2 separate regions of the Homo sapiens genome follow, and region 1 is linked to region 2. The links are contacts of gene promoters, found by promoter capture Hi-C in human tissues and cell types (Jung and others, 2019). All regions are on one chromosome and are shown on one strand. The core of a region is centred on a gene start or on the middle of the fragment in contact, and the rest is flanking DNA. Distances in the headings are between cores, read along the strand shown.

Region 1 (6,273 bases), core at 1,226-3,725, 180 kb before region 2:
AAAGGGCAGAGGTTCTCGCCTGAGAGTGGAGACGTGCTGGATTGGAAATACCAATGAGAAATGGCCAGTAGGAGAGTATTTATCTCCCCTCACTGGCCCTAATGATTGTGGGGTGATGGAGTGGAGCAGCTTCTATCCTGGAAGGCTGAAATAAAGTGTTTGTTTCCAATGGGAGTTTAGAAACCAATGAAAATGGACAGGGGAGCTCTATTCAGTGAAGGAAAGAGTCAGAGGAAATAAATTACAAAAGAACACTGAGGCGAGCAGAGAGGCGAGGGCGAGTAGGGAGTGGAGCGTTGCCTTTGGGGAGGTGGCTAAAGACTGCAGAGAGCAGAAGTATGGAGGGAATGGCTTGCACCAACGTTTCAGCCCCTGACAGAGCCTCCTGCCGTGTCAGGCCCAGGTTCCATGGGAGGGGAGTGGGGGCGGGGGGGGGGAAGATCAGTGCAGCCTGCAGATTTCCTAAGTTTTTGCTGCTGTTCAGGGACAAATTTGCATAAGGTAGGAATGAGTCCTTGTCACAAATGTGGATCCTGACTCAAATACAGTTACGGTTACAGTTCAGCTCCATCTGAAGGTGAGAAACAAGCTCCCAGGTGAAGGGGCTCAGAGTCTGAAAGCTGCCTGGGCCAAGGTGCCTGGTAATTAGGGTTCGCCTTGCTGTCTGAGGACTGGAGCTGTTTCTGCCCCACTTGGCATTTCCCTATGTTCCCCCCTCAAATCAACAAATCATGACAACTCTAAGGATTTGGGGGTGGGGGACATTAAGTGAAGATCATTAAGTTTCATGTGTTACATGAAAGAACAAAGAACTGATATGAATGGAATGAATCTTAGCATTTTTGAAGTTTGAGAACTTCAAGTTCAGTCATACTTCTCCTTCCCCCATCTTTTTACCTATCCTAAAAATGCTGCATGGACAATAGGACCCAATTTTCTGAACCTCAAAGAAGATATACTATTTGATAATAAGTACATTTTTTGTTAACAGGCCAGCATTTTTGAAATTAGAAGAGCCCTCAAAAACGCAGGCTCTGTCTTCCTACTCTCTATGACATACTCAGTTTTTATAACTAAGTCAGTTTAGTTTTTAGGATTTTGTGGCACCCATCTCATCTTGGTGAGAATTATAAAATTCTCAAGGTTTTGTAAAAATAGATTTGGGAATTACCAACCTAGATATTTCCCAAAAGTGCATTAGACATCCCATGTCCTAAGCCAAGCAATTCACAGCCATCCTGCCTGCAGAGAGCACGCTTCTTAATCTTCTCCTCTTCAGAGCACACATCAGGCCTGGGAAGGCCAGTAAGCCCAGTTCCCAGTGAGTGACAAGTTTGGATTCCAGGGGTTCTGAGTAGACTTTGAACCTTCTCAATACTATTTTTGCCTCACTGCTTCGGTGACTTTGGACATTTTCTTCTGATTGATTAGGATTAAATGTGCTTTTCTAAGCTTCTGTTGAGACATGTGGTTCTCATTACTGTCACTGCTCATTTCCCACAGTCCAGCAGCCTCTCCCCCTTTCTCCAGCATTGCCTGTTATCTCAGGATCCCATTACAAGCCTGGAGGAACTGGCTGGGAGTCTGGATGTGGGTGATGAGGAAGGCTGGTAGGGAAGCCAGGAACCCACAGGAACTATGGTCCAGGAGTTCCATTCTTCTTTGTCCACAAACATAACAGGGCAGCCTGGGAGGGTTCAGGAGAGTCTTCTCCCCAAGTCAATATGTTAACCCATGTGGAATTTCACTAAATGAATGTCAAGGTGCATCAGTCAGGGGCCTGATGGGAAAGACGGTACCATCGAATTGGGTGATTTGAGTAGAGTTTAATCAAACCATGTGCTAGCTGGATTCTCTGGGAAGTAGATGCTGGGATGCAGTTAGGAGTGTGGAGTTAGTTAGAAGTTAGGATTTATTAGGGGTTATGTCTATGGAAGATAAAAGAAGCAGGAAGTAGGAATGAACAGGGAAAACCTTCAGTCTTGATGCAAATCACCTGTAATAAAAAAGAAGGGTCAAAGCAGGACTGGGCCAGGGAAGCTCAGAGCATGAGTCTGATCTGACTGAGTCTTAACCAACCCAGTCAGGAGCAGGAGCAAAGACAGCCAGTTAGAGGAGTCTCTGTTGTCACACAGAAATGGTCAGGACCCCCGGCCCTTGTATCCCCATCATATTCAGTCATTAGCTGGGGCTGTTCGGAAAGAGCGTGGCAAGCAGCAGCAGCAGCAGCAGCAGCAAGAACAACCATAAAATTGATCTTGAAGGTTGAAGGCAGTCAATTCACTGCAGCCTTGCAGCTGAATGGCAAGTTCTTTCATGCAAGAAGATCTGAGAGGTGCACCTCCATGGCTGCCACGTGGGATCCTCCCGAATGCACAGGTAGCGGGTAGAGCACCCACAGCCACAGAGCAGACTAGGAAGAGAGGGGCCCCACTGACCTCATCAGCCCTGAGTACAGACTGTCAGGTGGGGATGCAGCCTCCCTGAAGGGAGGGAGTCGGGGAGTAAGCACCTGCGCCTCACCCTCCTCCCTCCATCCTGCCAATGCTCCCCATTCTTCATCCGGAACAGCTTGTTGGTATAATGCATGCCCATCAGCCTCCCAGGGTGTTCAGCAGGGTGGAGGGGCTCAGCAAACACAGGCGGCACACCAGGGCAGCCTTGGAGAAGGAGCAAAGTCTCCCAGGGAGAGAGAATCCAGTGGTGGGGAAGGCCTGAGACAGGCAGAGATGTTTCTTTGTCTTGTCAAGCTTCTCCCCAGCTGTCTGCACCCCAGAGTCACTGCCCAGCTAACAAAGGATCTCTCTCCACCCGTCAGTAGCTCCACTGCCAAATCAGGGGCCTTAGGAATGAGTGCAGAGACAGACAGACAGAGAGAGAAAGAGAGAGAGAGAGAGAGAGAGAGAGAGAGAGAGAGAGAGAGAGAGAGAGAGAAGAGGAGAGGAGGGGAGAGGAGGGAAGGGGGAAAGGTAGGAGACACTTCAGAAACGGAGTGCCCACTCGCATACACCACACACATGCACACACACCACATTCTACTTTCCTGGGCCTTATACATGAGGGTGAGAGGTGACACAGGGACCAGAGTCTGAATCCAGCAGCATTCCTGAGGCTCCTTATGCACCTGCCTATGCAGCCCAAACTTCCCAGAACTGCCCCTCTTTCAGGGTCTTGATTATTGATTTGCAGAGTGGCCTGTGGCTATCCTTGCATGTGACCCTTAGGTCTCACCACTTCTGTCAGAGGACTCCTCTCTGATGGCAGCTCACTTTCTCCAGCTGCCTGTAGGCATTTATCTTGTGATGCTGTTTCACAGCCATTCACAGCCACAGGAAACATTAGTTCTGCTTCCGAGGAATGGACAATGCTGGGCAAATTACTTTTTGCAGCGAGCAGTTAAGATAATTTTTTAGTGATACGAACAGGACTCAGCCGATGGTGTTCAAAACAGTCCTGCTGGAGCTGAACTGGGAGCCGGCAGATGGCTTCTCTCCTAACTCAGTTTGACTGAGTGAGACATTTGATTTGAGCTTCTATTAAAGAGGTAGAATGTATTAAATTGTTTTGATGATGGTTGGCCTTTTTTCAGTGAAAGAATGTAACTTTTTTTGTCTATAAAAGAGTACACATGGACCATTTCCCTCTTCTACCCCCTATTCAGTAAGGCCCAGGCCAATTTCTTAAGTGAAGGCTCAGGACTTACTAAGTCACTTATTTTTCTACAACGTTTGCAAAAGTAATTGCTGAAAAATGTCCAAATGACGTGAGTGTATTTGGACAATGAGAAGGGAGATGGGTTTCCTTCCTAAGGGTCAGAAACTATACCCATCTCCCTGCTAGGTTCGGTCCCCTGACTTCACCACAGTGGGAGCTAAGTGAATTCTTGTTGATTGTTAAAAGGAAAGGCAAATAATTTTCCAGTGTTGTTTTCTGTTGGGACACTGACGTGATGCTGATCTGTAAGGCAGCTCTCTCTGTGGAATCACCACCACCTCGCATCCAGGGAGAATTAATTCAGGGCACAATGGAGACAGAGACCCAGCCGAGATGACAATTACAGGGTGGCGGAGTGGGTGGGGCGGAGGGGAAAGAGCAGGAGGCAGCGTTTGCTTTTGCCTTCTGATAGTCTCGCCTGGAACTTGGACACTTCTATATTATCCTTCTAGTCTGTAAAACAGTAGAAGGGAGTCTAAAGGAAGACATTTCCACTTACCTGTCTAAATCGGTTTGCTAAGGACTGCTGTAATAGAGATCACCAACTGAGTGGCTGAAACAACACAGATGTATTTCCTCCCAGTTCTGAGGATGAGAGATCATGCTGTCGGCAAGACTGGTTTCTTCTGAGGCCTTTCCCTTGGCTTGTAAATGGCTGCCTTATCCCAGGGACTTCATGCATTCTTCCCTGTGTGTGTATCTGTACCCTAATCTCCTTTTCTTGTGAGGTCACCTGTCAGATTGGATTAGCGCCCATCCTAATGAACTCTTTTTAACTTAATTACCTCTTTGAAGACCTTATCTCTAGTCACATTCTGAGGTACTAGAGGGTTAGGACTTCAGCATAAGAATTTGAGGGGACAAAATCCAGCCCATAACATTGCCATTGCCTGTTTCACTCCTTAGCCGAGTCTTTTGCTTGTGGCCTAGTGGTTGACCTAGTGGCAGGGAGGCGCAGCCTTCTAACTCTGACCGTCTGGAAATGGCTCTGTGATTGCACAGTCCTGGCAGTCAGCTGTATCTTGCATCCTATGGCACATGTTCTTCATAAAAGTTACATGAAGACTTTAAAGTTAAGGCATGTTTTCAAGGCCTGCTTATGAAAGGAAACCCGTAATAAATACTTTGTAAAATTCAGAATTGTCTTCTAATTTATTTACTTTTGTAAGTTCAGATTTCTGGGTCAACAATTTTCTTTTCTTTTCTTTTCTTTTTTTTTTTTTGAGATGGAGTTTCACTCTTGTTGCCCAGGCTGGAGTGCAATGGCACAATCTCGACTCACCGCAACCTCTGCCTCCCAGGTTCAAGCGATTCTCCTGCCTCAGCATCCTGAGTAGCTGGGATTACAGATACGAGCCGCCACGCCTGGCTAATTTTGTATTTTTAGTAGAGATGGGGTTTCTCCAGGTTGGTGAGGCTGGTCTCGAACTCCCAACTTCAGGTGATCTGCCCTCCTTGGCCTCCCAAAGTGCTGGGATTACAGGCGTGAGCCACCGTGCCAGGCTTGGGTCAACAATTTTCCAAGAGAAGGGCCTATCCATATTCATAAACGCCAACAGTTCAGCAAAAATTTTGGAGGTCTTGCTACATGGTAAGCTCTTGCTGCTGGGCGCTTAGGATACAACTGTGCACAGGACAAATGAGGGCCTTGCCTGCCTGCAGTTTCATATTTAACAGGGCAAACAGAAGATGAGACACAGAAATACTAAATTGAATTTTCTTTCTTTTCTTTTTTGTTTTTTAGAGATGGGGTCTTGCTATGTTGCCCAGGCTGGTCTCGAACTCTTGACTTCAGGAGACCCTCCCAACTTGGCCTCCCGAAGTGCTGGGATTACAGGTGTGAGCCACCAGAACTGGCAGAGTTTTCTTTCTGCATTGTAGTACAGTGCATCTACCCATTCATTCACTCATTCATTCATTCAGTAAATTTTTAGTGAGCACATCCCACCTCTCAGGCCTTGTCATGTGGGCAGGGAAAACACTGGTGAAGAAGACAGTCATGGTCTGCATGGCTCTTACATATGAGTTGTGAATTATTAGCATATTGTTTTGTAGATGCAGCTGTAATAGATTTATAAAATTGAGCCAAATATTGTCACAACTAGGTGTAGTTTGGGAAAATACTTCTTGATGAATCTCCCTCCTTTCTTCCTTCCTTCCTTCCCTCCCCCCCTCCCTCCCTCCCTTCCTTCCTTCCCTCCCTCCCTCCTTCCGTCCCTCCCTTCCTCCCTCCCTTCCTTCCTTCCTGTTGAACAAAATTTCAGAGATTTGAAGTGTTTTTGCAGATTGGCTTGTGGAAGTTCTACAGTACCACCAGTGGTCTTTCAAGCCTGATATGCTTTCATTTGATTTCCTTTTTGATGCAAAAGAAATTTTTAAAATGTACTAAAATCAGTGGCATAGAAATTGCAGTAAGGGATGTTCTCAATTAGAAGTAACCCATAAGTGCTGTATATCCATGAGCCAGGAACATTCGTCTATTTAGCCAAGTGGAAAGACAAGTGAGACGGGGGTTAGCAAAAAATAGATAAATATGCATACTTTCAAAAGAGTAATTAT
Region 2 (6,050 bases), core at 449-2,948:
AGGATTTCAAGGGAAGGCTTGGAACCATAGTGGCCCCATTATCTACCTAGGCATTTGCAGCTGGCACCATGCCAAAAAAGCCCTGTAGAAAGAGGTCTTATTTTCTTCCTTCCTCTTCCCCTCTGGAAATAAAAGTAGGTTGTGTTTCTCCTGCCCGCCCCTAGAGATCAGGGAAACGGGAGCTGGAAGGGCATCTTGGATTACCTCGTCAAATTCTCACTCAGCATATCAATGCCTGTGCCTTTTGTCCTGGCTACTGCCGCTTCAGTAAAGGAGGCCAAAACCAGTTATTGCGGCCAGGGCGGCTGCGAAGTGGTTCAAAGATCAACGACTGGGGTCGTGTAGGGTGGGCACGCAGTCCCTGGGGCCCAGGGGAAGGGGAATGGTGGTCGGCGCCCGGGCTCCCTTCCCTACTGGCAGGAGTGGGGGTGCACGGAAGGAGGGTACCAGGAGAGCCACAGGTTCCCACTGGCCACATGGGAACAGGGTTTGGAGAAGGCTCTGCACAGCCACAGTCGGAGCTTCGTGCTAGGGTCAGACCGCTCTCGCCATGGGATCGGTTTGCTCACCGAGAAACTTCACCGAGAACTGCAAATGGGCATAGAAGATTGCGGAGGGGGCAGGGACAGGGGCCTTGGAGAGGCAAGAGGGGAACCGGTATCTTCCATCTGGTGCGCGTAAACCAAGACTCTATCCTGTGCCGGGTCTCTCCTCCCCGGTCCAACTCCCTTACTTGTCCTCATCTCTGTCCCCAAGGTCCGTGACCCGCGGAGGTGATGGGGGGGATAGGAGAGCCCCAGGGACCGCAGAGGTGACACAATCGCCCGCCCGTCCTCCCTCGCTGGGAGCCGATTCAGCCTGTGCCGAGCCTCTCCCTTCGCGCGCCTCTGCGCACAGCGGTGGCACCGCAGGACTCCGGGTCCCCCCCGGCTCTCCATCGGGAAGCCGGCAAATGCGCTTCCTCAGGCAGACCGCGGCGGGGTGGGGGCGGGGGGGGGGCGGAAGTTGAAATACTGGGACAGAAACACCTGCCCGTCCCAAGGGACGGAAAACTGGATGCCAAGGGGGCCGCGGCGCGCAGCGGGAGGCGAGGGGAGACCGGGGGTCGCTGCGCACCGCCCGCAGCCGAGGGGCGAGCGGCGACCTCGCGCGCCCCAGCGCGGCCTGGCCACGGAGGCCGGGGCGCAGGGGGCGCCGGCGGGACTTACCCCAGAGCAGAGTGAGTGGCTTGGCTTTGGGGATGAGCACCAGGGAGTACACGGCCCCCAAGTGGAGCAAGCTCATCAGGACGACATTCCTCCAGACGATGTTCTGCCGCTGCCCGCGCGCGCCTGGCCTCTCCGGGCCGCCGCCGCCCTCAGAGCTTTCGAGCCCGGCACGGATTTCTTCCTTGGCGTCGCAGAAAGGGATCTTCCCCGCGTCGGTGGCCGGGCCTGGCATGGCTGGGCGAGGTGGGCGCCCGCAGCAGCGGCAGGCAGGCAGGCGCTCTGCCCGAGCGGAGCTCGAGGGTGGGGGCGGGGGCTTCTGCCTTTTAGGGGGGAATTCTCCGCACGTCCAGTCCCCTCCTTCCAGCCCTTCTCCCGGGCTCCTGCGCTCTTCCCCAGGGTCTTAGCGTGGCCTAGGGATGCAGATCTTGGCGGCCGGCGTCTGTTGCTGGCGTATCCCCCATATGGCTGCCCGGGCTGAACTCGGCCGCGAGAAAGAGGAGGCGCGCGCGGGGCGGGAGGGGCGCGCGGCCGGGGAGGAGGAGCTGTGAAAATGGAACGGGGCCGGCGACGCTGGAGGGAGCGCTCCGAAGGAGCGCGGAAGAAAGCCCTGCTTAGCTACAGCCAATCAGGAGCGCCCGTGCGGCGCTTATAGACAAAGGCGCCCCCCTTTCGGCTTTTCGGGGCCGAACTGGGGAGCCCGCTGGGCGGGAGTTGGCCGCCTCCGCCCGGGGGCGGGTGGAAGGTGGCTCCCGGGGCAGGGAGCCTGCAGGGCGGCTCACAGCGCTTCTGCTCTTGTGTGTGTGTGACCCCCAAAATGCCTTTTATGGTATTTTTCCAGTCCCCCCCCCAAAAAAAAACTTCCCGAAACTGTCATCCCTTTGAGAAGCCTTTTATTTCTTCTCAAGCCTCAGGCCACCTGGGTTGGAGAATTTTAAATACTTGCTTGGAGTCGCGACCCTAGTTAAGGCCAGACCCACGATGAGAATCAGAAGTCCCTCAATCTGCCAGTTAGTAGGGCTCCTCGGGCCAGGGGAGGGTTGGAAGGCAGCTGCTCGTTCTTAATTAGGCAGCTGTGGATTACCCAGGCACACAGTAAGTGCTCAGTTGGTGCTTGTGAGGTGATGCACAGATGATTTGGGCCAGTTCGCTGCCCACCCTTTGCCCATCCGCCGCGCCACTCTGTTTATGGTCAATTCTAGCTAATCAGCGCACTTCTGCAACGCCTCCTTAGCTCTCAGTGAGGAACACTACCCTGAAATCAACACCATTGAGAATCGGGCTTTACAAAAAAATCACCCAGAATGTTCCAAGGAAAATTAACCTGTGAAAGATTTGTGTCTGCCCACTTCTCTCCTAGAGCTGATGGCTTAAGAGCTCTCCAGAGAGGACCCTAGTTGCACAGAAAATGGAGGGAGGATTGAGCTGGAAGTGTCTGAAGCAGGTGTGACCGCAATTGCGGGCAGGCAGCAGAAGTAAAAGGGCTCGGGACAGCATCTCTGAGTTCTAGTTTTAACTGGCTGGAACCCAGCCCAACTCTCTGGGCACGGATTTCCTTACCTGAGAAGCAGAACTAGTTTCTACTCTTCCTTCCAGCTTCCATATTCCATGAATGTGAGTTCGAAGGGGCGCCATTATATTGACCAAAACCAGCTGATTTTTAGATTAACCGTTGTTAGGAATCATTTCCAGGATTTCAAGAGAGGCAAAAAAATTTAAAAGACTGACTGCATGAAAGGGCCATGCATAAGCATCTTATTGTTAGCAGACCTGAGCCAGTCCTAGCAGCCAGACAAAACAATGCCTGATTTAAGCTAAAGCAAGGTATGTGGCACTTGTGGAATCTAGGCCACTGAGTCAGTGTTACTGTGTTGCTTCAGACGGAGCTGAAATTATAGAATTTGCCTGGAGACCAGATAAATGTCGGCCCTATATAATGACCAGTCAGACAGTGGAACATGAAGCTGGAGGGTGCGATTTTCATCTGTCTGTTCAACCTGGGCTATGTAATGAACCACGTTTTCTTCTCATGCTCCCTCTGCTCCCCATACCCAGCAGACCTTCCTACTCCCTGTGGCTCTCTAGTTCAGACTGTCCTTTCTCTCTGGGGTAGACTAGTTGCTCGGCCAAAAGCCTCTCTCCGGGTTATTGGAAAGGCTCAATGCTGTAAAGACCCTCATTCTAAACATTCAGTCATTTATTTGGCATTTATTGGGCATCTGCTATGTGCCAGGACCAGTGGGCACAGGGGATCCAAGGATGAATAAAGTCTGGTCCCGCCCCTAAAGGAGCTCCCATCTAGAAGCAAAGATGGAGCAAACAAATGTAACCTCTTGACTATGACCTTGGAAGGGCAGAAAGTTACAGTCCATTATCGGAAAAAAAAATTTAATTAGGTATCAAACTTACATACAAGGAGTCTAAGGGAAGCAAAAATAGTTCCTTATTGTCCCCCCTGAGAACCTTATTAGGTCAGCTGTTCTATCTTGAATCCATCTTTTGTTTGTTTGTTTGTTTTTGTTTTTGAGACGGAGTCTCGCTCTGTTGCCCAGGCTGGTGTGCAGAGGCCTGATCTCGGCTCACTGCAAGATCTGCCTCCCGGGTTCACGCCATTCTCCTGCCTCAGCCTCCCGAGTAGCTGGGACTACAGGTGCCCGCCACCACGCCCGGCTATTTTTTTTTTTTTTTTTTTTTTTGTATTTTTAGTAGAGACGGGGGTTTCACTGCGTTAGCCAGGATGGTCTCGATCTCCTGACCTTGTGATCCGCCAGCCTTGGCCTCCCAAAGTGGTGGGATTGCAGGCGTGAGCCACTGTGCCCGGCCCTTGAATCCATCTTGAATGAACATCTTTCTCTTTTCCCTCCTGTGGGTCAGACCAGGTATGACCAGTCATTTCAGCTGGCTGTCCTCATAATGGAGAAGATGTTTTTGTGTGTTGAGGGAGGAAAGAAGTGTTACTTAGGTTTGTCAGAGCCTGCCTATAAAAGGATTGTTGAAGAAAAATGGTCCTTCCAGGTCCAGCCTCAGAGTGAAACATCTACAAGATCCAAGATATATTCTTGCTGATAACGACGGTCCTCTTTAGCCAATTATGCCATAGGGGTCACTGCCTCTTTTCTCTGTCTTGCCAAAGACCCTAGTATATTTTCCTAGCTTCTAGTCAGGACCCCAGGAGTGGATAAGTATTCACCTGTCCCAGGATGGGGCAAATGGGACAGTAACCCTTATCCTGTCAAACACGTAATTACCAAAAATGTAATAAGAGCCATAATGGTGGTATACGCAAGATAATGTAGAGGTGCAAAGGAGGGAGTTGTTAATTCACACAGAAGCAGGGAGGAGGGGGAGTGATACCTGGGGAAGGATTTTTAAAAAATATTTAATTGTGGTAAAATACATGTAACATAAAATGTATGTAACAAAATTTACCACTGTAACCGTTTTTAAATGTACAGTTCAGTAGTGTTAACTATATATGCACATTACTGTGCAACCGATCTGCAGAACTTTATCATTTTGCAAAACTGAAACTTTATGCTCATTAAACTCCCCTTTCAATCTCCATCCAGATGCTGGCAACCACTGTGCTACTTTGTTTCAATTAGTTTGACTACTCTAGATACATCATATAAGTGAAATAATAGAGGATTTGTCTTTCTGTGACTGGCTTATTTCACTTAGAATGTTTTCAAAGCTCATCCAGGTTGTATGTGTTAGAATTCCCTTCCTTTTAAGACTGAATAATATTCTATTGTATGGATATGAATTTTGTTTATCCATTCATCTATCTAACAGTGGACATTTGGGTTGCGCCACCTTTTGGCTACTGGAAATAATGTTGCTGGGAACATGGGTGTACAAAGATCTCTTCAGGACCTGCTTTCAATTCTTTTCGGTATATATATGTATATCCAGAAGTGGTATTGCTGGATCTTATGGTAATTCTATGTTTAATTTTTTGAGGAACTGTCATACTGTTTTCCATAGTGGCTGCACCATTTCATATTTCCAACAACAGTGCCCAGCGGTTCCAATTTCTCCAAATCCCCACTGATACTTTTTCTGTTTTTTAGATAATAGCCATCCTAGTGGGTAAGGAGTGATATCTCATGGTAGTTTTTATTGCCCTCCCTTAATAATTAGTGATATTGAGCATCTTTTCAAGTGCTTGTTGGTCATTTGTATACCCTCTTTGGAGAAAGATCTATTCAAGTCCTCTATTTTTAAATAAGGTTTTTGTTGTTGTGGTTGTTGAGTTGTAGGAGTTCTTTACATATTCTGAATATTAACCTATCAGATATATGACTTGCAAATATTTTCTTCCATTCTGTAGGTTTCCTTTTTCACTCTGTTGATTGTGTTCTTTGATGCACTGACATTTTAAATTTTGATGTAGTCCAGTTTATCTATTTTTACTTATATTGTCTGTGCTTGTGCTTTTGGTGTCGTATCCAATAAATCATTGCCAAATCCAGTGTCATGAAGCTTTTCCTCTATATTTTCTTTTAAGAGTTTTATAGTTTTAGCTATAAAACTTACATTTAGGTCTTTAATATACTTCGAGTTAATTTTTGTGTATTGTAGAAGATAAATGCCCAGTTTCATTCTTTTATGTGTAGATATCCAGTCTTCCTAGCACCATTTGTTGAAGAAACTATCCTTTCCCCATTGAATGGTCTTGGCTCCCCTGTTGAAGATCAGTTGACCGTATATATGAGAGTTTTTTTTTTTTTTTCGGCTATTTCACTCCATTGGTCTGTATGTCTGTCTTTATGCCAGTACCACATTGTTTGAATTATTGTAGCTTTGAAATCAGGAAGTTTTGAAATCAGGAAGTTTGAGACC

The links. The method cuts DNA at HindIII sites, captures the fragments that hold promoters and counts their contacts. A contact is called where the count stands out against the background at its distance.
Region 1: a contact is called between a fragment that was not itself captured here and the fragment with the promoter of SCD5 in region 2, in 2 of the 25 tissues and cell types used here (dorsolateral prefrontal cortex and spleen).

The regions. Positions count from the first base shown.
Region 1 is chr4:82,616,999-82,623,271 of GRCh38, forward strand. It overlaps LINC00575 (long intergenic non-protein coding RNA 575), which reads right to left and starts at 4,439. Exons shown (of 4, transcript NR_024088.1): 1 at 4,214-4,439. The HindIII fragment of the contact is 5,001 bases long and covers 1-4,976 here.
Region 2 is chr4:82,797,098-82,803,147 of GRCh38, forward strand. SCD5 (stearoyl-CoA desaturase 5) reads right to left here and starts at 1,699. Exons shown (of 5, transcript NM_001037582.3): 1 at 1,209-1,699. The coding sequence starts at 1,440. RefSeq lists enhancers at 1-446, 1,423-2,140, 2,141-2,857 and silencers at 1,255-1,304, 1,635-2,054. The HindIII fragment of the contact is 23,697 bases long and covers 1-6,050 here.